Regions from separate parts of the Homo sapiens genome. Here all the other regions are linked to region 1. The links are contacts of gene promoters, found by promoter capture Hi-C in blood cells and fetal thymus (Javierre and others, 2016). All regions are on one chromosome and are shown on one strand. The core of a region is centred on a gene start or on the middle of the fragment in contact, and the rest is flanking DNA. Distances in the headings are between cores, read along the strand shown.

What was found. Contacts are between HindIII fragments. The CHiCAGO score rates a contact against its expected background, and 5 or more counts as called.
Region 2: a fragment that was not itself captured here is called in contact with the fragment with the promoter of ERP44 in region 1 in 1 of 17 cell types (M2 macrophages); the score reaches 5.6 in M2 macrophages.
Region 3: a contact is called between a fragment that was not itself captured here and the fragment with the promoter of ERP44 in region 1, in 1 of 17 cell types (fetal thymus). The highest score is 7.6, in fetal thymus.
Region 4: a contact is called between a fragment that was not itself captured here and the fragment with the promoter of ERP44 in region 1, in 2 of 17 cell types (M1 macrophages and M2 macrophages). The highest score is 5.8, in M1 macrophages.
Region 5: a contact is called between a fragment that was not itself captured here and the fragment with the promoter of ERP44 in region 1, in 1 of 17 cell types (monocytes). The highest score is 5.8, in monocytes.

The regions. Positions count from the first base shown.
Region 1 is chr9:100,096,939-100,101,737 of GRCh38, reverse strand. It overlaps ERP44 (endoplasmic reticulum protein 44), which reads left to right and starts at 2,738. Exons shown (of 12, transcript NM_015051.3): 1 at 2,738-2,954. The coding sequence starts at 2,898. It overlaps INVS (inversin), which reads right to left and starts at 2,495. Exons shown (of 17, transcript NM_014425.5): 1 at 2,322-2,495. RefSeq lists a silencer at 2,222-2,431 and enhancers at 2,672-2,811, 2,822-2,891. The HindIII fragment of the contact is 16,824 bases long and covers 1-4,799 here.
Region 2 is chr9:99,200,283-99,204,747 of GRCh38, reverse strand. No RefSeq gene overlaps it. Among named protein-coding and RNA genes, the nearest start is that of ALG2, 19 kb to the left of the region's middle. RefSeq lists an enhancer at 1,313-1,482. The HindIII fragment of the contact is 5,389 bases long and covers 1-4,465 here.
Region 3 is chr9:99,160,571-99,165,648 of GRCh38, reverse strand. No RefSeq gene overlaps it. Among named protein-coding and RNA genes, the nearest start is that of TGFBR1, 58 kb to the right of the region's middle. The HindIII fragment of the contact is 5,524 bases long and covers 890-5,078 here.
Region 4 is chr9:99,244,717-99,249,346 of GRCh38, reverse strand. No RefSeq gene overlaps it. Among named protein-coding and RNA genes, the nearest start is that of SEC61B, 25 kb to the right of the region's middle. The HindIII fragment of the contact is 6,907 bases long and covers 1-4,630 here.
Region 5 is chr9:99,183,258-99,188,012 of GRCh38, reverse strand. LOC105376174 (a long non-coding RNA gene) reads right to left here and starts at 3,690. Exons shown (of 2, transcript XR_930169.3): 1 at 3,611-3,690; 2 at 2,477-3,419. It also overlaps the pseudogene RN7SL794P. RefSeq lists a silencer at 438-557 and an enhancer at 3,102-3,311. The HindIII fragment of the contact is 6,133 bases long and covers 1-4,755 here.

The DNA of each region.
Region 1 (4,799 bases), core at 1,489-3,988:
GGTCACGCCAATCGCTGTTACTCCTGGGGATCTGAGAGTTTTCTAAGATAAATTTATAACGGATGAGCTGGTATTTGTCTTGTCATCGACAAGGATTATTGGTTCAAATTCTGCCCTTGAGAGAACATATTAATACTTTCTTAATTATGGTAAAGCACAGCTCCTTACGTCTTTATTTTGCTGACAATTTGAGTTAAGGACTGGCAGAAAATATGGAGGAAGAGGGTGTTGTGAGACACTTCAGTCATGTCTGAGTCTAACAGTCATGTCAGAAGAACTACTGTCATATCCAGGATTATATTAAGGTTATTTGAGAGAAGCTACAAAATAGAGGTGGAGGTGAAAACATGGGAGGGGAGTAACTGCACTTGGGTTCTAGGCCCAGTTGTATTTATAATCAGCAGTGTGTCCTCAGGCTATGTCAGCTTTCTAGGTTTCTGTAAAATGCAAAAAATAATAAGGTTAGACCATGTTCACATTCGTTCATTCAACAAGCTGAGTGACAACTATGTGCTAGGCACTGTTCTAAACTCTAAGACCTGTCATTTTTCATTCTAAGTGATCAGAGTTTTAGGCACATCAGAACCACAAAAAAAGTTCTTTATACCCTTTGAAAAATACACTAAAAATGTGATCTCTGTTTTATATATATGTGTGTGTGTGTATATATTATACATATATAAATTATATATACACATATATAATATATATAATATATATACATATAATATATATATTATATATACATATATATTATATATATAATATATATTATATATATAATATATATGTATATATATTATATATATTATATATATACATATAATATATATACATATATAATATATATTATATATACATATATAATATATATATTATATATACATATATTATATATATATTATATATACATATATTATATATATTATATATACATATATTATATATATAATATATATTATATATACATATATTATATATATTATATGTACATATAATATATATATTATATGTACATATAATATATATATTATATGTACATATATAATATATATATTATATGTACATATATAATATATATATTATATATACATATATAATATATATATTATATATACATATATTATATATATTATATGTACATATATTATATATATTATATATATATACTTTTTACTTCATAATTCTTAGCACTTAGCACAGTAACAGGTATATAGCCAGTACTCAGTAGATGTTTGTTGGATGAAAGGTCACAGGCTGAGTGCTAAGTCCAAAAAGTGAGCAGGATCAAAGTTTAATTTCTTGAATAATGAGTTCATACTTACAAGTCTCTGCTCTTTTAAAATTTCCCATTTCAACTATCTTTGGGCTCTGTCAGGGGCGTGGACAAGAGATAGGAGCACTAGTCTAGGAGTTAGGCCGCCTTGGTAAGAGTATTGGCTCTATCACTGTCTAATTTTGTCACCCTGAGAAAGCCATTATGCAGGGCTCTTTTTTTTTCTTAAGAAAAAATGTATTTTTTGCCCCTTTAAGAAAATAAATCATTTTTTATAGAAAAAAGTCAAAACCACTTTGATAAAGTGCTATAAAATGCAAAGGTGTCATCATCCTTGCCTAATTATACAACAAGCCCGTGTAATAAATGCTCTAATAATTATAACCGTACAAAACTAGAGGTACTGCAGTCACACTCATAGGAAGAGTAATTCTGATTAGGACTAAAGGGTTGGTTGTTCGGGAAGTTCTCAGAGATGGTGACATTTAAGATAGCATTCCAGAGAGAGAACGGGTAAGGCCATTCCAGGCAGCAGGAAAGCTGAAGCAAAGGCGGGAGCAGGGAGAACCACAAAAGCACAGTGTGCCTCCTGGGTACTAAGCAGAGATCGCGTGGGCTCCTGGACCTCACTGAGTGTTTGCAGAAGAAGCCGCAGAGCTACCTGGGGCCAAGTTAGGATCCTCGACTGCTTTGCTAGGGAATTTCGTAATTATACTGGAGGAGCGATCCACGCCTTAGCAGCAATCACTCACACAGTTTTCCAGTTTACGACGTGCTATCCCATCCCGTACCACATCTACTCCTTACAGGAGCCCTCAGAGACAATCAGGGATAAGTCATTGACTCATTCAACTGAGGCCCCGAGTGGTGGCTCTGACTTTATAATGCAGGAATTAGAGCAGAAAGAAGAGGCAGCGGGCGAGGAGGCCAATGATGGAGGCTCAGGCCACAGCCTAGGCCAGGAAGGCCGTGAGTCTGCAGCAGGGGCCAAGGCGGTGCGGACCGAATGATCTGAGCCTCCCCAGCCAGGCCCCCTCCTACTCACCCTCGCCTCCTCCAGGACTGACGTCCCGGGGGCGGCTCCAGGAGGCGCAACCCGGACCGGGCCGCCCCTCCTGCCGGGCCGGTACACTATATCCAGCCAGGTCAGACCCCACGGCGCTGAAGCTAGCCGAGCCCCTCAAAAGGCCGCCCGAGGCTTTCGGCCGCACATCCTTCTGGGAATTGTAGTTCCCATCCTCTGAAGCACCGCGTACACCCGCCCTCCGCCCTTCTATCCCACAGGACCCCGCGCGCAGAGGACTCAGTGGACCGGGGCCGAGAGCCCAATGGGAAAGGAAGTTCTAGATGACGGACGACGTGCGGGGTGAGGCTAGTGCAGGACTACATTTCCCGAAGTGCACCGAGGTGGGCAGGACCCGGAAGTGAGGGTGTGAGAGGCCTCTCTGGAAGTTGTCCCGGGTGTTCGCCGCTGGAGCCCGGGTCGAGAGGACGAGGTGCCGCTGCCTGGAGAATCCTCCGCTGCCGTCGGCTCCCGGAGCCCAGCCCTTTCCTAACCCAACCCAACCTAGCCCAGTCCCAGCCGCCAGCGCCTGTCCCTGTCACGGACCCCAGCGTTACCATGCATCCTGCCGTCTTCCTATCCTTACCCGACCTCAGATGCTCCCTTCTGCTCCTGGTGAGTGAGGGAATGACAGACCCATCGACAAACGCACGAACGGCCTCCGGCCCTCGCCCAGGGGGAACACTGCTACTCCTGCCCCTGCTTTTCCGTCTTTTCCTGCAGTGTTTTGGAGTGCACCCTCCCCCGCTGCCCTCACTCTCGCCTGTCGGCTTCCAGGCGCGGAGTCCCCGAGGCCTGAGAAACCAGTGTCGGGGGAGAATGGGAGAATTAGCCCTGAGGGACTGATACGTAGTCACGGCGTAGGAGCTTCCCCTTCTCCCCGAAGTCCGGGGGTTTCGGTTTCGAGGGCTAGTGGACCTGGTGGTAGCTTGAATCGGAAAAGACCAAGCATAGACCTAGCGTTCCTTCCCACCCTCTCCATTTGGGAAGAGTGTGAGGTCGACAGGTGCTGGGGTTGTGTGACTCTCACTGGGTCTAGATCCCTGAAGCGGTGCCCGGGTTGGCAGATCCCTCTGTTGTGGCTTGATGCGATTGGTTGGGAACCCGGAACTGGAGACTGGTTTGGATTCCACTGGGAGAATAGAGTTTGAAGGGTGGAAGGTGTGGTTACCTGACAATCTCAGCTCAAGGCCTCCCTCAAATCTTATTGCAACGTATTTCCCCATGGAAGCAGATTTCTTCTTCATTGCGCCTTATTTGAATATGCATTCATTCCTAACTGCCTAACCTGCTCAGCATCATCCCATCTTAAAAGAATCTTTCCCTAGTCCCTCTTGCCCCAGAGTACGTCTTGAGTGTGCAGACTAATTGATCCAGGCTTCAGGTCAAATTGAGACAAAAGCGAAGGACTAAACACGTATGGCAAAATGGCTTATATTTAATTGGGCTGTTAATTATAATGTAATATTTGAAAGTACCTTAATTGTAGTAGATTTTTAGAAATTCAGATTTAAACATTAAGAACTACTTTCTTTACAATTTAAGAAACGATTTAGTGACGCATATGAAGTCACACAGCTAGTTACAGGCAGAGCTGGGATTAGAAACAAGTCTCTTGACTTCCAGTGCTTATTCCGCCATATCCCATTAAATGTTTAATATTTGTGTTTGAAATAGTTCTTTCTTTTCTTTTGTCACTTGGACCTTTTCGGAAAAAGCACTGTAAAAAACTAAATGGCATGTCAAAGTACTTTTGAGAACAAAAAGTTGTGTATAAACATTGTAATATTAAATGATAGAGTGTCTTATTGCCACTTCTTATAAGTATACAACAGTGAATGACTTCTGTATCGAGGAAAATATTCTGTATAGTGTTGTTTCTTGGTGATTTCATTATACACTGTGATACATTTTTCCTTCTAGAAGTGTTAGAATAATACCATTATTAGAGACCACTCTCTCCTTAAGAAGACTGGATACTAATCTTATCCACAAAATGGCTTGAGTTATGAATTGTGTGCACTTTTAGGAAATCAAAAAAAAAGGGCAAAAATCTTAAGATATTGTAAAGAAAAGTTGAGACACTGAACAGGCAAACTATATCAGATGCACTTTCCTCAAATGGTATGGTTTGGTTGTAAAGCTAAGTTATGAAGAAGAAATAATTTATTTTGGAATAACTCATGCTTTTTATAGAAAAACCTAATCTTGTTAAATATGAGTTTTTTCCCAAATAGAATCTAGATTTAACTAAAATCTAAGCATTTTGTATAATTATCTTTCTAAGCAAATGTAAAGGCATAAAAATCTGGAAAATATGTTAGAGAATACCTGTAGATATGAAAAGGCTGAAAAAGCCCCAGAAAAGGTTTAAACTAGAATTACAAGTCAAACTAGATTTAATTGGAATACAGTGTTTACCTAGTTTTAATACTCATATGCTAGTTAGCAAATATTTAT
Region 2 (4,465 bases), core at 557-3,056, 900 kb after region 1:
GAGTTCGAGACCAGCCTGACCAACATGGTGAAACCCCGTCTCAACTAAAAATAAAAAAGTTAGCTGGGCTTGGTGGCATGCACCTATAGTCCCAGCTACTCCGGAGGCTGAGACAGGAGAATCACTTGAACCCAGGAGGTGGAGGTTGCAGTGAGCCAAGATGGCTCAACTGCACTCCAGCCTGGGCAACAGATCAAGACTCTGTCCCCCCAAAAATAAATAAATAAATAAAGGAAAGGAACTCAGTATGTCAAAGGAATACATGCACCCCCTTGTTTATTGCAGAACTATCCATAATAGCAAAGATATGAAGTCTTTGAAACATGTCCATTAACAGATGAATGGATGAAGAAAATGTGGTGTATATATTCAAAATGACATACTATTCAGCCATAAAAAAGCATGAAGTCCTGTCATTTGCAGCAACATGGATGGAACTGGAAGTCATTATGTTAGGTGAAATAAGCCAGGCATAGACAGACAAATACGTTCTCACTTATATGTGGGCACTAAAAAAGTTGATCTCAGCTGGGTGGGCTGGCTCACACCTGTAATCACAGCACTTTGGGCGGTCGAGGTGGGTGGATCACCTGAGGTCACGAGTTTGAGACCAGCCTGTCCAACATGGTGAAACCCCGTCTCTACTAAAAATACAAAAAAATTAGCCGGGCGTGGTGGCGGGTGCCTATAATCCCAGCTGCTCAGGAGGCTGAGGCAAGAGAATCGCTTGAACCCAGGAGGCGGAGGTTGCAGTGAGCCGAGATCCTGCCATTGCACTCCAGCCTGGGCAACAGAGCGAGACTCGGTCTCAAAAAAAAAAAAAAGAAAAGAAAAGAAAAGAAAATTGATCTCATGGAGATAAAGTAGAAAAATAGTTACCAGAGGCTGGGAGGGGGTCGGAGGGTTGAAGAGAGGTTGGTTAATGGATACAAATATACAGTTAGATTGAAGAAATAAGTTCTAATGTTCAATAGCAGAGTAGGGTGATTATAGTTAACAACAATGTATTGTATATTTCAAATTAGCTAGAAGATAACCTGAAATGTTCCCAACACCAAGAAATGGTAAATACTCAAGATGGTGAATACCCCAAATACCCTGACTTGATCATTACACATTGTATGCATGCAACAAAATGTCATGTTACACTGTCAATATGTACAAATATTGTGTGTCAATAAATTTATTTTTAAACTTACCCTCAAGAGGTCCTTGCAGGCAAATCATGCCTTCTCACATACCTTTCACTCGTTGCTTCTACTTCCACAATAAATCTTACTCATATATATTTAGGACCTACCCTGTGCATAGCACTGAAGATAAAGAAATGAAATTAGCAGTTTAATACTCTTTGACTTACATAATTCTGCATTGTTCAATACTAATATCCTCAGACCTGACTTTCTCTTTGTTCACGTTAAATAATCATATTTTACCCATATTTTAATTTTGAATATTTTTTGGTTTGTCTAATAAATAGAGAAATCTTAGATTTAGTGTTTTTTCTTATAGTATTGGTTTTTAATATTTTATTAAAGATTACTGAGGTTGCTCTTATTACACCTGTGTGTGTATATACACACACACATATATATACACACATATATACTCACACACACATATATATACACATATATACAGACCTGTATATATGTACACACACATATATACACACCTGTATATGTGTACACTGTATGTATCTACACACACAAGTGTAATACATATATACATAATATATATGTGTATATGTGTATATATTCTTTGTACCATCCTTTTTTTTCTTAAAAAGGACACTTGCTTTCCCTTCTGATTTTCTTCATTCTTCTGCTATTCATTGATGTATTTCATTATCCCATTATTTCAATATAAATAATTTCTTTCAAATATTTTAATTTTTTTATTTCAAGTTTGATAATATATTTGCCGCAGTTGTTTGGACTTACTTCAGTACAATCAACTGGTCTCACTGGTTTCTACCTTAGATTCATTGTTCCCTTTCTATGGAACACATCTTTGAATAACATTTTTTCAGAGAGAATATATGCATTTGTATAATTCCCATTGTCTTGCATATAAATAGCTTGATTATATATAAAATTCTTGAGTCACATGTTTTTCTTTCAAAACTTTGTAAATGTTTACCTTCTAGAGCTGCTTTTCCTATAATATGTTCCAAGGAAAATAAGCTGTAAAAAATGCTTCAGGAAAAAGGGCTCCATGGTTATATAACTATAGGAAAACTTCCATTCCTATAGGAAAGGTACATTTTCTATCAGAAATGTACCAGGGAAAGTAGCATACTATAGGCCATGAGCTCTCCTGAGGTAATGAAAATGGATTAATTTTATTTCCAGTGTATCCAAGCTACTTGACCACAGTAATACTGAGAGAAAGCAAATGACCAACAATACAGTAACAGGTAACATCTTTTCAGCATGTACTATGCACTAGGCACTGTTCTAGCACTTAGTCTGTGTACATTATCTGATTTAATCCTCACAATAGTTCTAGATGGGTGGTAGAATTTTTCAATCTGTTTTAACAAATGAGGAAACAGAGGCACAAATAACTTAAGAAAATGAGCTAGAAAATGCTGAAGCTAAATTGAAACCCAAGTAGTTAGCTCCTGAACCATTATTCATATCCTTAAGAGTTGGCAGGGAAGGGCAATAAAGGCAACTTCTATATCTTTCCTAAGCCTGAAAAACACAGCGAAACATCTAATTGTACCAGAAAAGAAAGGGAACTTTCCACCAACCAGAAGTACACTCTGCTAGACTGTCCTAGAATTTGCTGCTGAATTATGGCACAGGCACTTTGGGGGGTAATCTGATGATCATCCATGCAAGTGCTCAACCTCTGCTGTTGGCCAACATCCAGGACCCATCATTGAATACTCATCACCTCATCAATTCATCCTCCTCAACTGACGGGCAAAACAACATCCAAATATTCATTGCACATCTGTGCCGGGCAGATTATACATTAGCAATTCAAATCTGGCCGGTGTGCTGGCTGTTCCTGCAAATGCGTCTGTTTGGGTGAGATGCCTTGTTGTCTGGGATGGATAATAAGGCAACTCGGTCTAATCTTGAAGAACAATCAACCCATCTTGTGAAGGTGACTGGCTGTGTGTGTTCTTGCCCTGGCAGCATTGGAACAATGGCCCCATAATGCACTCGACTCAGCTGGCAATGAAGTCCCATCCTGATTAGTAGCCGTGGCTGGTGTCAATCACCACAGGATGCATCATTGTCCCCTGGTCCCCAACACAGTTTATTTACAGGAAAACAAAGGCTTTGGGGGGCCATGGCTGCTTCCCAGAGATTGCAAAATAGATTGAGCTGTCAAGCACACAAAGTAGATGAAGATTAATGAGTTGTGCGGACAATAAATATGAAGAGATGACCATGAATATGCTAATGGGCATTATCCATATACACTGTAATTGCTACCAAAATTAAAAGGTGGCATGAAGAAGATGGGTCACAGGGTGACAGGGAGATAATCTTGGATGCTTGAGACACTCACTCAAGATAAGGCTCTCTACAGGTTTCCTTTTTCCCCATTAAACCATCCTGAGGCATCATTATTCACAAGCTATCTGAATACGCTCCTTTTAAACAGGGATATAAGGGGCAGGGTGAGGGTGGGAAGCTGGAAAAGTTACTTTAAGGAAAGGTGTAATTAGAATAAGAAAGGCTTATCAAAGGCAAGAAGTGATCAGCTGTCAGTCTCCCACTTTATCCCCAGGGGCAGAATTGATGAGAGATGTCACTTCAAACTTCAGATTCCCCACGATAAGAGCCACAGGGATTATTGAGAATGGTATTTAGAATACCTTTCAGGGCGCACTGGGTGATTTTTCAAAGTATTCTAATATTCTGATTTAAAAACAACAATAATAATAATAGAGAAAGTTGAAGAACTTAATGTTTCAAGGCAAATGAAATCTTGCGATCATGAATGATTGGATCTTGGAAAAGCTATGCTCTGTAGTACTGTGGCATGGCCGTGGCATGGCTGAGTCTCACCCTGCCTTGCAGTCAGTCCTCACAGTCCCCCATGTGGCAGGGTGGGGGTCTCTGTCTCCATTCAACACCTTTCTTCCTTTCCACGCGTATGTCTGTGGATGGGGCTTAAATTATCCTAATAACACACCTAAGTAATGCTATGAGAGGCCACGAATAACAGAAAGAGAAAGAAAGGTTTTCTTGTTTCATGGGTTCTCTGTTCTGGACAATCTGCTCCCCCAGAGGTCTATGAGATGCTTCCCCGGGTTGTGGGAACACATCTTTGCTCCTTCAGGATAGAGACCAAACATGTTCCTTGGCCTACCCCAGGTGAAGGACTAACAGGATGAAACCACAGTTTCAGGATGAAGAGCTAAGGGTGAAAAAGAGGAAGTCAGGAAAAGGAAGGGGTTCCAGTCTGAGGCTGGACTGAAAATCCGCCTAACAGGGAA
Region 3 (5,078 bases), core at 2,402-4,901, 940 kb after region 1:
GTGGTAGAAAGTCCTCTGTCCAAAAGGAAATTATAGCTAAATACTCCAGTCCGTTATTTAAATACCTCCTTACCTTGGCAGGCGTGGGCATCCCAGGCTGCCTGCTGCAATCTAGAGGTGAGCCTGCTGACAATATGGCCCAGCCACTCAAGGGGACCTGAACTGGCCCTCCCCTTCCAGGGAGACGCCTCTTGTGAAAGCAGGCCACACCAGCTATCCATACAGATTAATCTAATCCTTCATTTAGGAAAGTCGACGGAGAGCCATGGAGCCCCAAATATTTGAGGAAAACCAATAGCACAACCAAGTTGAACAAACATGAGTAAACACAACGTCATCCTGGAAAAAAAAAACAAGATGAAGTAGGTAATGTTAAAGATAAAACCCTAATTAGTATCTCTGGAGAGATGTGAGAGAATGAAATCTCCAAAACAAGAGCCAGCTGCCGTAAAAAAGGAGCCATCGGAGAACAAGAAATAATTTCTAGAAATGTAAAATAAGGGTCAAAATTTTAAAAATTCAGCAAACAGGAATAATAGAATGGCCAAGACCAAAAGCCAGAGCAGTTGTGTGGAAGTCAATGAAATCTCCAGAAATACAGAAAAAAGTCAGCATAGTAAAAACTAAAAGTCTAGAAACAGGAAAGCTCCAGGAGGCTAGCATCCATCAATTCAGTAGGAGTTTCAGAAGGTAAGAAAAAAAATCAGAGAGGTGGTGGGGGATAAAGTCAAAGACATAATAGAAAGTTTCCCTGAGCTGGGAAAAAATACAAGTCCTCAGATTGAAAGAGGCCACTAAGTACCAAGCAGGATAAATGAAAACAAAACCCATACCTAGATATTTTTAGAAATTTCAGAACCCCAAGAAGAATGAGAAAGGCTTAAAAGCTTGAATATTAGAAATGAGAATTTAATTAATTTCAGACTTCCCATCAGAAATGCTTTAAAAATCATGCCTTTAAAACTCCAGTGGAGGCTGGGTATGGTGGCTCAAGTCTATAATCCCAGCACTTTGGGAGGCCAAGGCAGGCAGGTCACTTAATGTCAGGAGCTCGAGACCAGCCTGAGCAACATGGTGAAACCCCATCTCTACTGAAAATACAAAAATTAGCCAGGTGTGGTACCACGTGCTTGTAATCCCAGCTACCCAGGAGGCTGAGGCAGAAGAATCACTTGAACCTGGGAAGTGAAGGTTGCAGTTAGCTGAGACTGCACCACTGCACTGCAGCCTGGGTGACAGAGTGAGACTGTCTCAGAAAAGAAAAAAGAAAAAAAACTCCAATGGAATATGAATTTGAGCTGAAATTATACTCCAGCAATGCAAGGAAAGTTTATCACGTGTGCACTCGAATGTAAAAATTACTCACGGAAGTACTTGTGCAAAACAAAGGGAATGAAAGAATGAGATTTCAAAAAAATGAGACTGAAGCAAATAAAAAACAATGATACCTGAATAAAAGTGAGGAAAGTAAAAACTACATTAAAAGACCAAGATTTGAATGTTGACAGCTGTGTGGCTGGTATTAAATACATGGAATATTCTTTCTTTCTCTATAGATTTTATCACACTTTTTTCTGCAGTGATTAATATTTGTATAACCACAATATGGTAAATGCTATTTTTATTTGGTTTAAGTATTCAAGCCTAGAAGACTTGGCTGTAGTTCCAGAACAGAATGTAAATGTTATGGGAGGCCGAGATGGGTGGATCATTTGAGGTCAGGAGTTCAAGACCAGCCTGGCCAACATGGTGAAACCCTGTCTCTACTAAAAATACAAAAATTAGCCCGGCGTGGTGGTGGGCTCCTGTAATCAGCTACTCGGGAGGCTGAGGCAGGAGAATTGCTTGAGCCTGGGAGGCGGAGGGTGCAGTGAGCCGAGATTGTGCCACTGCACTCCAGCCTGGCAACAGAGTGAGACCCTGTCTCAAAAAAGGAAAAGAAAAAAAAGAATGTAAAAGTTTTGTTATAAGCCATGAAAGTGGGAAGAATGGTGATCATATATATTGACGTGGAAGAACAAACACTATGTAAAGAAGCAAATGTAAGCTGCAGACTAACATGGTTAATATGACCTCATATATATATGTGCCATATATATGAGCATACAGATAAATAACAGTTATATATAAACATACAGATATATAACATTTACATATATAAACATGACAGATGTATAACATTTATATATAAACATACAGATATATAACATTTTTATATAGAGTCATATTATCCATATTGTTCTCTATTTATATATATAAATGTTATATATCTATATGTTTTATAACTATATGCATTTTTATGTGCATAGCAAAACACCTGGAAAACTTTCATTCACTTTTTACTTTCTACACTTCTGTAGCTTTTGAAACTTTACAACCATGAATAATTGTTATAATTAAAAATGTTAAATAATAGAATACTAGCTTGAAGATTTACCACATTTTTAGCTGGCGTAGGAGATATTGCTTTTGGTAAGGCCTCAAGAAAAACAGTCATTGATTTTGGTATGGCCTCAAGAAAAATAGTCTGATTGAGAACTACATTTAGTAGAACTCAATCTAAAACTAGGTAGAAACCTCAACTCTTTTCTAATATGAAAACAAAACAAACAAACCAAAACACTCCCGCAGACCAGAGACCAAAGAAAGATCAACACTGCCACCTATTGAGGATTTATTGGAGAACAGGCTAAGTTGAGTTTTTTTTAAATTGTGATTTTTAAACAGATTTTGAGATATTTTGAGATCTGCACAGACCTGAAATCTGGGTTATCTTCCACCAGGCACACGGATTCTTAGCCATAGAAGTAAGGAATCAGGAGCATACTGAGGGATGCTTGGGAAGGTATGAGTGACAGTTTAAGAAACAGACTCTGTTCAGCCTAGTAAAGAGCCTACCCAAAGGGACTTGGTCTCAGTTTCTTACTTGCTGTGCTACAGGACAAAGGCTGGGAGTGTGGGACCCTGGCAGACGAGTGGGGAGGAGATATGGGCCAACATATGTCACTCTGCTAGAAAGAATGTTTTAATTGTTACTTTCCAAAAATAAGATAATGTTCTGTGAAAACAGTGAAGGCACCCTGCTCACTGAATATATGTCAATAGAGAAGCACTGTGACCCTCCATCCTGGAAGTTACAGAAGAACATCAGCATTTCTGAGGAAGTTAGATTACAGTTAGATTATCTGCATGCACTCGTGTATTCAACCAAATACTTATTGATGCCCACTCTATGTTAAGTACTATGCAGGGCCCCTTCCACCCAGAGTCACAGATCCCATTCGACTGGCTTTTGGAATGACTCAAACATAGCCATGGCATGAGATAGTCCAGGAGGAATCAAGCTATATATTTGGTGAGCCATCCTAAACTCAGCCTGTATTTGGCAAGCACCGAATGTCTGTATCAAACTTAACCATGCTTAGGACACATTCTTTAAAAAGGTAGGCAGTGGCCGGGCGTGGTGGCTCACGCCTGTAATCCCAGCAGTTTAGGAGGCCGAGGCGGGCGGATCACAAGGTCAGGAGTTCGAGACCAGCCTGGCCAACATGGTGAAACCCCATCTCTACTAAAAATACAAAAATTAGCCGGGCGTGGTGGCAGGCGCCTGTAATCCCAGCTACTCAGGAGGCTGAGGCAGGAGAATCACTTTAACCTGGAAGGCAGAAGTTGCAGTGAGCCGAGATCTCACCACTGTACTCTGGCCTGGGTGAAAGAGTGAAACTCTGTCTCAAAAACAAACAAACAAATAAACAAACAAAAAACATAGGCAATGCGATCTGATGAACCAAACTCTTGTTCATTTTTAAAGGTTGACAATGAGACACCATCTCACACCAGTCAGAATGGCTCTTATTAAAAGTCAAAAAATAATAGATGGTGGGGAGGCTGCAGAGAAAAGGGAATCCTTGCACACTGCTGCTGGAAATATAAAGTTCCACCACTGTGGAAAGCAGTTTGGAGGTTTCTCAAAGAGCTTAAAACAGAACTACCATTCAACCCAGCAGTTCCATTACTCAGATACCCAAGGGAAAATACATTGTTCTATCAAAAAGATGCTCACATGTTTATTGCAGCACTATTCACAATAGCAAAGACATGGAATCAACCTAGGTGCCCATCCACGGTGGATTGGATAAAGAAAATGTGGTACATATACACCATGGAATACTATACGATCATAAAAAACCAAAATCATGTTCTTCGCAGCAACATGGATGCAGCTGGAGGCCATTAACCTAAGCGAACTAACACAGAAACAGAAAACCAAATATGGCATGTTCTCACTTTATAAGCTAAACACGGGGTACACATGGACACAAAAATGGGAACAACCGACACTGGGGACTGCTGCACGGGGCAGGTAGGAGGGAACAGGGGCTGAAAAACTATGCATTGGGTCTATGCTCACTACCTGAGTGACAGAATCAATCATACCCCAAACCTCAGCATCATGCAATATAACCATGTAAAAAAATCTGCACATGTACACCCTGAATCTAAAATAAAAGTTGAAATGTTTTTAAAAATCACATAAAAAGGAACTTGAGAGAATAAACAAATGAATAAAGGTTGAAAATATGAACATCCCAATATGATCAAAACAGATTTCATTCAATCATTGGTTAAAAAAAAAAGTAAGAACTATATGAGAATCACAAAATAATAGAGCTGGAAAGACTTCCAAAATGACCTGTATCACTCTGCTCATAAGCTGGGCTGGTCTAAATTGCTGTGAATAAGAATTCTGGTTTTCATTTGGGAGAACAGTACAAGAAAAGAAATATAAAGAGATGAATAATATGTACAGGATTTATTATACAGTCAATGTGCCATAAAGAGAATGCAAAATTGAGAATAAGTATCAAGAATGTAAAAATATTCTTTCACTTTACGTAATTCAAATCAGAAGATCCCAAACTTCCATCTTACTAAAAGGTGCTGGGTTCTGACTAAGGAGAGCTCATTGTTTTAAAAAGAATGCCATCAAATATGAGAAAAATATAAACCAATAAAAAAAATGGAAGTAGTTGATGGAATAAATAAACGGAATAGCAAGGGGAGGCCAGAAATTGGTG
Region 4 (4,630 bases), core at 1,589-4,088, 850 kb after region 1:
CACAGACCCTTTTCATGGGCAGGGGTCACTCTTAGAAATGAAGGCAGTCCATTCCACAGACCCTTTTCATGGGCAGAGGTCACTCTTAGAAATGAAGGCAGTCCATTCCATAGACCCCTTCCGTGGGCAGGGGTCACTCTTAGAAATGAAGGCAGTCCATTCCATAGACCCCTTCCGTGGGCAGGGGTCACTCTTAGAAATGAAGGCAGTCCATTCCATAGACCCCTTCTGTGGGCAGGGCTCACTCTTAGAAATGAAGGCAGTCCATTCCATAGACCCTTTCCATGGGCAGGGGTCACTATTAGAAATGAAGTCAGTTCATTCCATGCATGACCCCATCCTATGAACGTGATCTTCCATTTCCCATCTGGTATCATCTGAAGCTCAGTTTAAAATTATCTTCTATAAAACTGTCATAAGAAATTTAAGACAAACAGATTTGTTTATCCTTGGGCTGAACTGCAGGCACATATAATCAAGATGGGCATTGTCCTCTTAATCCCTTCATTTGAAGGCCAAGAAGAGTTATATCTTTAGGAGAAATTATGTTCCTCTTTGACTTCTACTATGGCTCAAGCCTTCAAACCTTCAACTACCTTTTCTAAAATACTATGAATTTGAGGCTGAGGCAGTGAAAGTACACAATGAGCTCAGCACTCGTTTTTGTAGCCCAAAGTAAGAATATGCTCAAAGAATCATGGGAACATGCCAGAAAGTCACAGGAGCCAGCATAAAGGGGTTTCCAAGTGATCATCAAAACCCATGGAATAAATCAGGTTCCATGAGACTCTAGTCACATAAATTAATAAATGAAAACATAAATAGGTGGAAGAGAGAGAAAGTTCTCCTTTGTAATAGAATGATGACTACTGAATATCAAAAGAATGAAAAAAACAAATACCACAGAATTGGAATATCAAGGAAAAGAGCTGTGAAAGCATGGAAGGCAGAGAGTGATGGGACCCGGTGTGCATGCTGATTGAGGAACAAATATATATCCCTGCTCACAGAAAAAGAGCCTACTTTCCCAACTCTGCCTCTTCTTCCCACCTCCTGAAAAGCCCATTTTCTTATTGACTCCTCTGAGATTCAAAAGGCTCTTCTCTCTTAATGGTGTTTTCACTTGCCCCCAAATACCCAAAGAGTAGTACCAGTGTACCCCAATGTAAACAAAAAATCAATGGCTGGACCTCCCCTTCAGGGAGAGGAAGGAACATGGAAATGTGGGCTTCATATTTACCTAGACCGAGAAATGGAAACGGGCTTCGTGACTTTCTTGATGTGTGACCTTGAAAAGCCCACATTCTTTATGCTCCGATTATCTCATCTGTACAACTGGGATTAAAATTATTTCTCTACTTCACTGAATGGCGATCCAATTATTCACCATGTGACAAGGTGCCTGTAAACCACAATGACAGCAGACACGGAAGGTGTTATAGAATTAACAGAGATTCTGAAGAAAGGGCTGGGGAGAGACAGTGTGGTCCACCTGCCCGCAGGCCAAGGTCAAAATCATTATTCTTGACATTTGAATAATACACTGAACCCTTTTGAAAAATAAAAGTCAGACAGCAAGCACTGACTTAAATTACTTTTATTATAATGCTTCTTCTATATGAAGAAACATAGAGCTAGGTTTTTTTTATTTTTTATTTTTTTTTAGAAATAAACTTTTTTTTATTATTATACTTTAAGTTTTAGGGTACATATGCACAATGTGCAGGTTAGTTACATATGTATACATGTGCCATGCTGGTGTGCTGCACCCATTAACTTGTCATTTACATTAGGTATATCACCTAATGCTATCCCTCCCTCCTCCCCCCACCCCACAACAGTCCCCAGAGTGTGATGTTCCCCTTCCTGTGTCCATGTGTTCTCATTGGTCAATTCCCACCTATGAGTGAGAATATGCGGTGTTTGGTTTTTTGTTCTTGCGATAGTTTACTGAGAATGATGATTTCCAATTTCATCCATGTCCCTACAAAGGACATGAACTCATCATTTTTTATGGCTGCATAGTATTCCATGGTGTATATGTGCCACATTTTCTTAATCCAGTCTATCATTGTTGGACATTTGGGTTGGTTCCAAGTCTTTGCTATTGTGAATAGTGACGCAATAAACATACGTGTGCATGTGTCTTTATAGCAGCATGATTTATAGTCCTTTGGGTATATACCCAGTAATGGGATGGCTGGGTCAAATGGTATTTCTAGTTCTAGATCCCTGAGGAATCGCCACACTGACTTCCACAAAGGTTGAACTAGTTTACAGTCCCACCAACAGTGTAAAAGTGTTCCTATTTCTCCACATCCTCTCCAGCACCTGTTGTTTCCTGACTTTTTAATGATTGCCATTCTAACTGGTGTGAGATGGTGTCTCATTGTGGTTTTGATTTGCATTTCTCTGATGGCCAGTGATGGTGAGCATTTTTTCATGTGTTTTTTGGCTGCACAAATGTCTTCTTTTGAGAAGTGTCTGTTCATGTCCTTTGCCCACTTTTTGATGGGGTTGAGAGCTAGGTTTTGACTTCTTATGCTGTGAGAGCATCTTTTAAAGAAGAATGTGAATAATGGCGTCTAGGAACCTCTGGATTGAGGGCCTGAGAAAAACAGTGGAAGTGGAAGAGCAGCCTCTTGAAAGGGAATGTCCAACCTCTTCCTCTTTTTCCTGTTTCCCACAGAAAATTTAACTAGCTGTGTTCAGACCGACATGATGCAAAAAAAAAAAAAAAAGTTCCCATCCTGGCTTACATGGTGAAACCCCGTCTCTACTAAAAATATTTTAAAAATTAGCCGGGCGTAGTGACGGGCGCCTGTAGTCCCAGCTACTTAGGAGGCTGAGGCAGGGGAATGGCGTGAACCCGGGAGGCGGAGCTTGCAGTGAGCGGAGATCACGACACGGCACTCAAGCCTGGGCGACAGAGCGAGACTACGTCTCGAAAAAACAAAAAAAAGTTTTTGATTTTTGAAAAAAATCAACTGTGTGCTTGCTTCTTCAAAAAGAAGACTATACCAGGGCAGAAGATATTCCTATAAATACTTATGATTGACATCTGTAAATATTTATAGTATTAACTTTTTGTGGACACACAGTAGGGTGGGGCGGGGGTACTGGCATCCAGGGGAAGGGTAGATGTTTTCGTTGTTTCTATCCTGTAAGGACTGTCTGATGGCTACAAGTGTTAACGAAAAGCCAAACTGTATTGATCACATTTAAAAGCTCTCTCTCCAGAGTGGGCTATGCCACACTGCAGTATATTTATACAACGGAATACTCTATAGCTATTAAAATGAATAAAACATAGCTACATGGTACAACAGGGGTGAATCTCACAAACAAAGCAAAAAATGCAAGTCACGAAGAAGACATACAGTGTGATTTCATTCATATAAAATTCACAAACAGCTAAGTCCACTCTATCATACTGCGATGCATACATACATCGTAAAATCAAAAAGAAAAGCAAGAAAATGATTCTCACAAAAGGGAGGCTGGTGATGACCTGGGGAGGGGACACTGGGAGGTTAGGGGTGCTTGCAAAGCTCCCTTTCCTGGCCTGAGTGGTGGTTACACAGGGGTTTCCTTAATTATAATGTAATTTGTGTAATTACAATGCATTAAGATGTATTTTTTAAAAACATTTTCTCTTCGTATAGATCACATTACTCAAAAAAACGAGGAAAGCTGAAGCAAATATGACAATATTAACTAATCTCAATACCTGAATATCTGAATTAATTCAATTAATGAATTAATTGAATATCTCAAACTCTGCTGGGTCTATATCATTAATTATTATACTGCTATATGAAAAAAGCCAGGCCAAAAAAAAGATTACATACATTATATATGGAATTTGATATTCCATTTGTATAAATTTCCAGAAAATGCAACCTAACCTAGAGTGGGAGAAAGCAGACCAGTGGGTGCCCGGGGGCAGGGCTTTCAAAGGAGCCCAGGGAAACTGTTGGGGATGATAGATACGTTGATTATAATGATGGTTTTGCAGTGTATACTTTCATTAAAATGTATCAAGTTATACTCTTTAAATATGTGCAGTTTATTCTATGTCAGCTATACATCAACAAAGCAGTTAAAAAAAAACTCCCCTGTGCCTTTTCATATGTTTCTCATAGTCTTCAGTATGCATATACCGCTTTGGAAATGAGGAAGATACTTTTAAATGGTCAGAGAAACCTAAGTACCTTGAAGCTGTCTACCAGAGTTGTATGTATGCTTGTGGTCAGTCATGGGTTTCAATTATGTCAATGTATTTCTGTTCTGCTTTTGATAGAAAAAAGACCTCCACGCTCTTCCCTTCTGTCTTTTCTCCTCTCTCCCCTCTTTCTTTTCCCCTCTTCTCTCTGTCCCTCTCTCTCTCCCTCCCTTCCTTCTTCCCAGTCTCCCTTCCCCTTCTCTCTCCTTCTCCCCTTCTCCTCACTCTATTTCCTTTCTCTCTGTCCCTCTCTCTCCTCCCACCCTTCCTTATCAGTCTATTTCCTTTCTCTGTCTTTCTCTCTTTCTCTTTTTCTTTCTCTATCGCTCTTCTTCCCCCTCCTCTCTCTATCTCCCTCTCTCCTTTTCTCTTTGGTTCTCAGTCTTACTCTCTATCAGAAAACAC
Region 5 (4,755 bases), core at 819-3,318, 910 kb after region 1:
TAATTTAGAAAATAAATCCCCACCACTTTAACTCCTATTAAAATCAAATCAATAGACCTTATAGGTGAGACACTAGCTCAGGGTACTTTCTCCAGTACTGGTGGGAATGAACATTGATACAACTTGTGTAGGCAGTTTGTACACTTTCTCAAAAGGTGTATGTATTATACACATACCCAGGAATTTCACTTTCAGGATGTTAGCCTTTTGATAGGCTCATCCATGCGTAACATGACATCTTACAAAGATATTCACAGAGCATTGTTAATAACATTAAAAATGAGAAACAAATGTCGCATAATAGCGGACCAGCTAAGTGATAGTATACCCATACGATGGGATACTATCCCGCTATTTTTAAGCAAAAGCAGCTTTAAATAAGTGGTTAGGAATGATGTCCAAGATACAATGCTACTTGAAAGTAAAGGCATGTAAGCCTGTTTATGTTTTTGTATTCTTAGACTGCTCCTGTAAGAATACCTAAGAAACTGGCAAGGCGTTGCCTCCAAATTGGAAAACAGAAGTGAGAAATAGACTGACTTCCTGTATCCTCTTTTGTACCTACTTAGTCTATTTCAAAAACTAACAAACTTTAATTTCAAAAGCCAAATACTAGAGAAGGGTTTATGACAAAGCAAAATTCCTTTGTTCCATCCCTAGTCCCCCTCCCCAGTGGTAACCACTTTAGACAATTTTACATCTCAAATAATATGTTAATTTTGCTATTTCTTGGATTAACAATTCTGTATTACCTATTTATTTTATGTTCTAATAGTTGAAGACTTAGCTCGCCTATAACCCCGACCACTTCCTCTCCTGTCCTTTTAGTAAAGTTATATTATGTGCTAGTTCAGGATACAGCAGGTAATGCTGCAATGACAGACAACCCCAAATCCCAATGGCTTCTATCAAGAAAGGTTTGTTTCTCACTCATGGGACTTGTCTATTACAGGTCCATGGGGGACAGGAAGAGGCATAATCTGTACACTGTAATTATTCAAAACCCAAGGCTGATGGAAGAGCCACCATCTCACATAATGCCAGTCGCCTTCTAGAAGAAAGATTGATCCCACTGGTAATGAAATGCTAGCCCTGGAAGTGATTCCCATCACTTTGGTTCACAACTCAGTTACCAGAACTAATCTCATGGCCCCATCTAACCAGAGAGGGTCAGGAATTATCCAGAACAAAGGAGAACCAGAAATATCTTGGCAAGTGGCACTAATGACTAACATAGTTACCTTTGCAGCTAGACATAAAATAGTTAAACCTCTTTTTCTTGTTCTATCAATGTTAGGCATCATTTCCGGACTCCTCATTTTGTAAGATGCAATTGTTACTGTTACTAGCAGCTTCTTTGCCTTCTATCTTTCCTCCAGCTTTGGTTCCTGACTTCTTTCAGTTCTACTTTTCCCCACCCCAAACCTTTTTTTATTTTTTGTTAGGTTTGCTAACTCTCCCATACATTTCAGTAACCATAATCAGCTCTCTTATGCTCTGCAATTCTATGACTATATAAATATTATTTACTGCAGAGCCAAGCAATGTGCTGCAGTTGTTTCTTTCTTAGTGCATCTAATGTTACAATCTCTGGTGCCACCCTAGGGAATTTTCAGATGGATTCTCCTACACTCCATAAACTTCAGTTTTGCTTTGTATTTGCACTGAAATTTAAAAATCAATGGGAGCGTTGGAAGATGCAGCTGAAGAAATATGGGCCACATAAAGTATTAATGCGCCATGGGAGCCACAAAAGGCCCATGTGCCACCATAGAGCTAACACAGCCTCCATCGGCTGGAGGCTAGGACATCTGAGGCTGAACAAGGGACAGCTCCTGCAGGAACTGAAGGCAGAGCTTAGCATATGGGCCCAGGAGCCAGCACAGGGAACGCAGCCTCGTGCCTGCTCCTCACTGCCAGCCTGTGCTGGCCTCCTCTAATTGGATTGAGTGTTCTGTCATTTTCCCTCAGATGCACTGTGTGGAGAAGGGCCACATGTGCATTCACAGTAATGGTCTCCAACCACTATCCAGTTGGGACACTTTGGGGGCACTATGGAGGTCAGAAACAGCCAAAGGGCAACATGTTTTATTTTGTTTTTTAATGGAATCAGAATCAGAAGTATTAGCACCAATATAGGCTCTGTGCCAGGCACAGTGGTGGCACCCACCTGTCATCCCAGCTACTCAGAAGGCAGGAGGATCACTTGGGCCCAGGAGTTCTGGGCTTTAGTGCACTATGCCGATCAGGTGTCTGCGCTAAGTTTGGCATTAATATGGTGGCCTCTCTGGAGAGGGGGACCACCGGGTTGCCTAAGGGAGGGTGAGCAGGCCCAGGTAGGAAATGGAGCAAGTCAGAGCTCCTGTGCTGGACAATAGTGGGATCAGCCACTGTACTCAGACCTGGGGAACAACATAGTGAGACCTCGTCTCTAAAAAAAAAAAAAAAAAAAAAAAAAAGACAAAAGACAAACGAAAAAGCTCCGTGTGTGTTTATTGGGACAGAAGTGAAGGGAAGCAATGGTTAGAGATTATCCAGTCTGACCCGCCCATTCCACAGATGAGACAGTCGAGGCCCAAGGAATGGGAGGGGCATCTCCAGGTTCTCCAGCATCACAAGCTACTCCCCAGCTCTGCACCAGCTTCCCACATCAGTGACCCCTCTCTCCCTGCCAGCGCCTCCCATGTCAAAACAGCTCAGAGGACGGAAAGCTGGAGATGCTGGACGTGCAGAGACCCACCACCTGCCCGCTGTACAGAGCGAGACACTCCTTAGCTTACACAGCGAGTCGCCGTCAGAACCAGGGCCAGAGGGTCGCCCTGTGAACTGAGACCAACCCTCTCCCCTGCCCTGCCTCCCTCTCGCCCTTGAGTTCTCAGATGTAGGAAGGCAGCTCTACCCTGCTGGCCCCAGAGCGGTCACCGTCCATGGCCAGGAGCCAGCTACGTCCTGTGTGCCCTCCTCACTCTCCGTCCTTCCCTGCAGACGGGAAGAACGCTGGCATCAAACACAGTAGGAGAAGCAGTGATGGCCGTCCTTGTACCGAAGGAGCCATTCTTAAACCACGCTGCTAAAGCCACTTTAAAGGCTTTCAGAGCTCTGGGGCAGGGAGAAGGGCCATCGCCCTTCCTTAACAAAGTCACCTTTCACAACCTCCAGATTCTCCAGGCAGGCGTTTTTGGCTGGCTCTTTGGGAAGATCTTATGTGTGGACCACCATCGCCCTCTTGTGGCCTGTAGGCGAAGTGCTTTACGGTCTTGCTCAGAGAACAAAGGCCGTCAGTCTCCCTCCCTTCTCCTGTCTCTGGCACAGGAAGGGGTGGCTGCGTCAGTTTTTCATTCTGGGGGCCTTGGCCTTGGCTGTTGGAGCTTGATAGACTAATGAGATGTACATCAGCTCAGGAAACAGCTGCTGAGTGCCTGACGGAGGGGTTGAGTCAGAAGGAATGAAGTGAAAAATTGATTTATGTCAGAGGCTTTGGCAGGCATTTGTCTGAAAAATCACTAGCCGCCAGCGCTGCTCCAGTGCTCATGAGGCCGCGCATGAGTGTTCACACCCCCTCAACACCCACCCCACCCACCCCGCACCTCCGCTTTCACTGAAACCTTACTTCAAGGCCCAACTCTCACGCCTCCTCCTCCAGGAAGCCCAGCTTGCTCTCTGCAGCTCCTGAGACTCCAAGAAGAGCTTGCGGCCCACCCCTCTGCTTCCTCCTCTGCTCTGGTTCAGCCTCTGCCACGGTCGGAGCCAGCCGGGACTGTGGCCAATGTCTGCTCAACCTTTGAATCTCTGAGGACAGAGGCTGCATCTTGTGCTCCTAGAGTCAGGCCAGGCCCAGCCCTGAGTGGCTGAGTCTGTTGAATGAGAGAGGTCACTTCAGCCCAGTCATCGCCTCCGAAACCCACACCAAGCCCAACAAGAGATTCAGGCCCCTCTGGAGAAGGTGGGCTTTGTGGGTGCCCTGGCTGGCAGGGCTTTGTGACAGGTTTGAGGATGGGGCCATAGCAAGGGATGAACTGAACACTGACCCCCCCCCCAGTGCTTGTTCCTTCACTTACTTTTCCAACCTCCACTTCCCCAAGGAGTCCCAGGCAATGCCTGTTCAGCTGGTCTCTCCTGGGGCAAGCCTCTGAGGAGGAAAGAGTCCGCTGGACCTGGGGTTGGCTCTGGGGCAGTTATCTTGGTCCCTCCATTTCCTCATCTACCCAATAGCAGCAAAGAATATTGATTGGCATGGTTTGGGAACATGAACAGAGATGACTGCTGAAAACCCATGAGCACCACGGTGAGTCTTTCTGATCATTTCTGGGTTCTGAGCACTGGGTAGGCTGTTCCCACCACATAATCCACTCAACCACTGCTGCAACGGGATGGAAGAGTGGTCCAGAGCCTGGGCCCTGAAGCCAGACTGCTTGAGCCTGAATTCTTGCTCTGACACTTATCAGCTCTGGCACTATCTGCATAGTACCTTAAAAAAGGGAGATAACCATAGCACTCACCTCATAGAAGTATTGTGAGCAGGAAGTGAGTTAACACATCTAAAGGAATTAGAGCAGTGATTGGAGCGTGGGAAATGCTCAGGAAAGTAAGCCCTTGCTGCAGTATTGCATGGAAGCTGCTTGTCTTGAGGTCATCTCCTCCTGGAATGGTGTATCACAAAGACAGATCCGAGTTGCATTTTACATAAAAATCGATCTTTCTAATGCACACACTCGGCATTAGCTTCTTCATTCTGAGGTCAACATGCCACTGGTG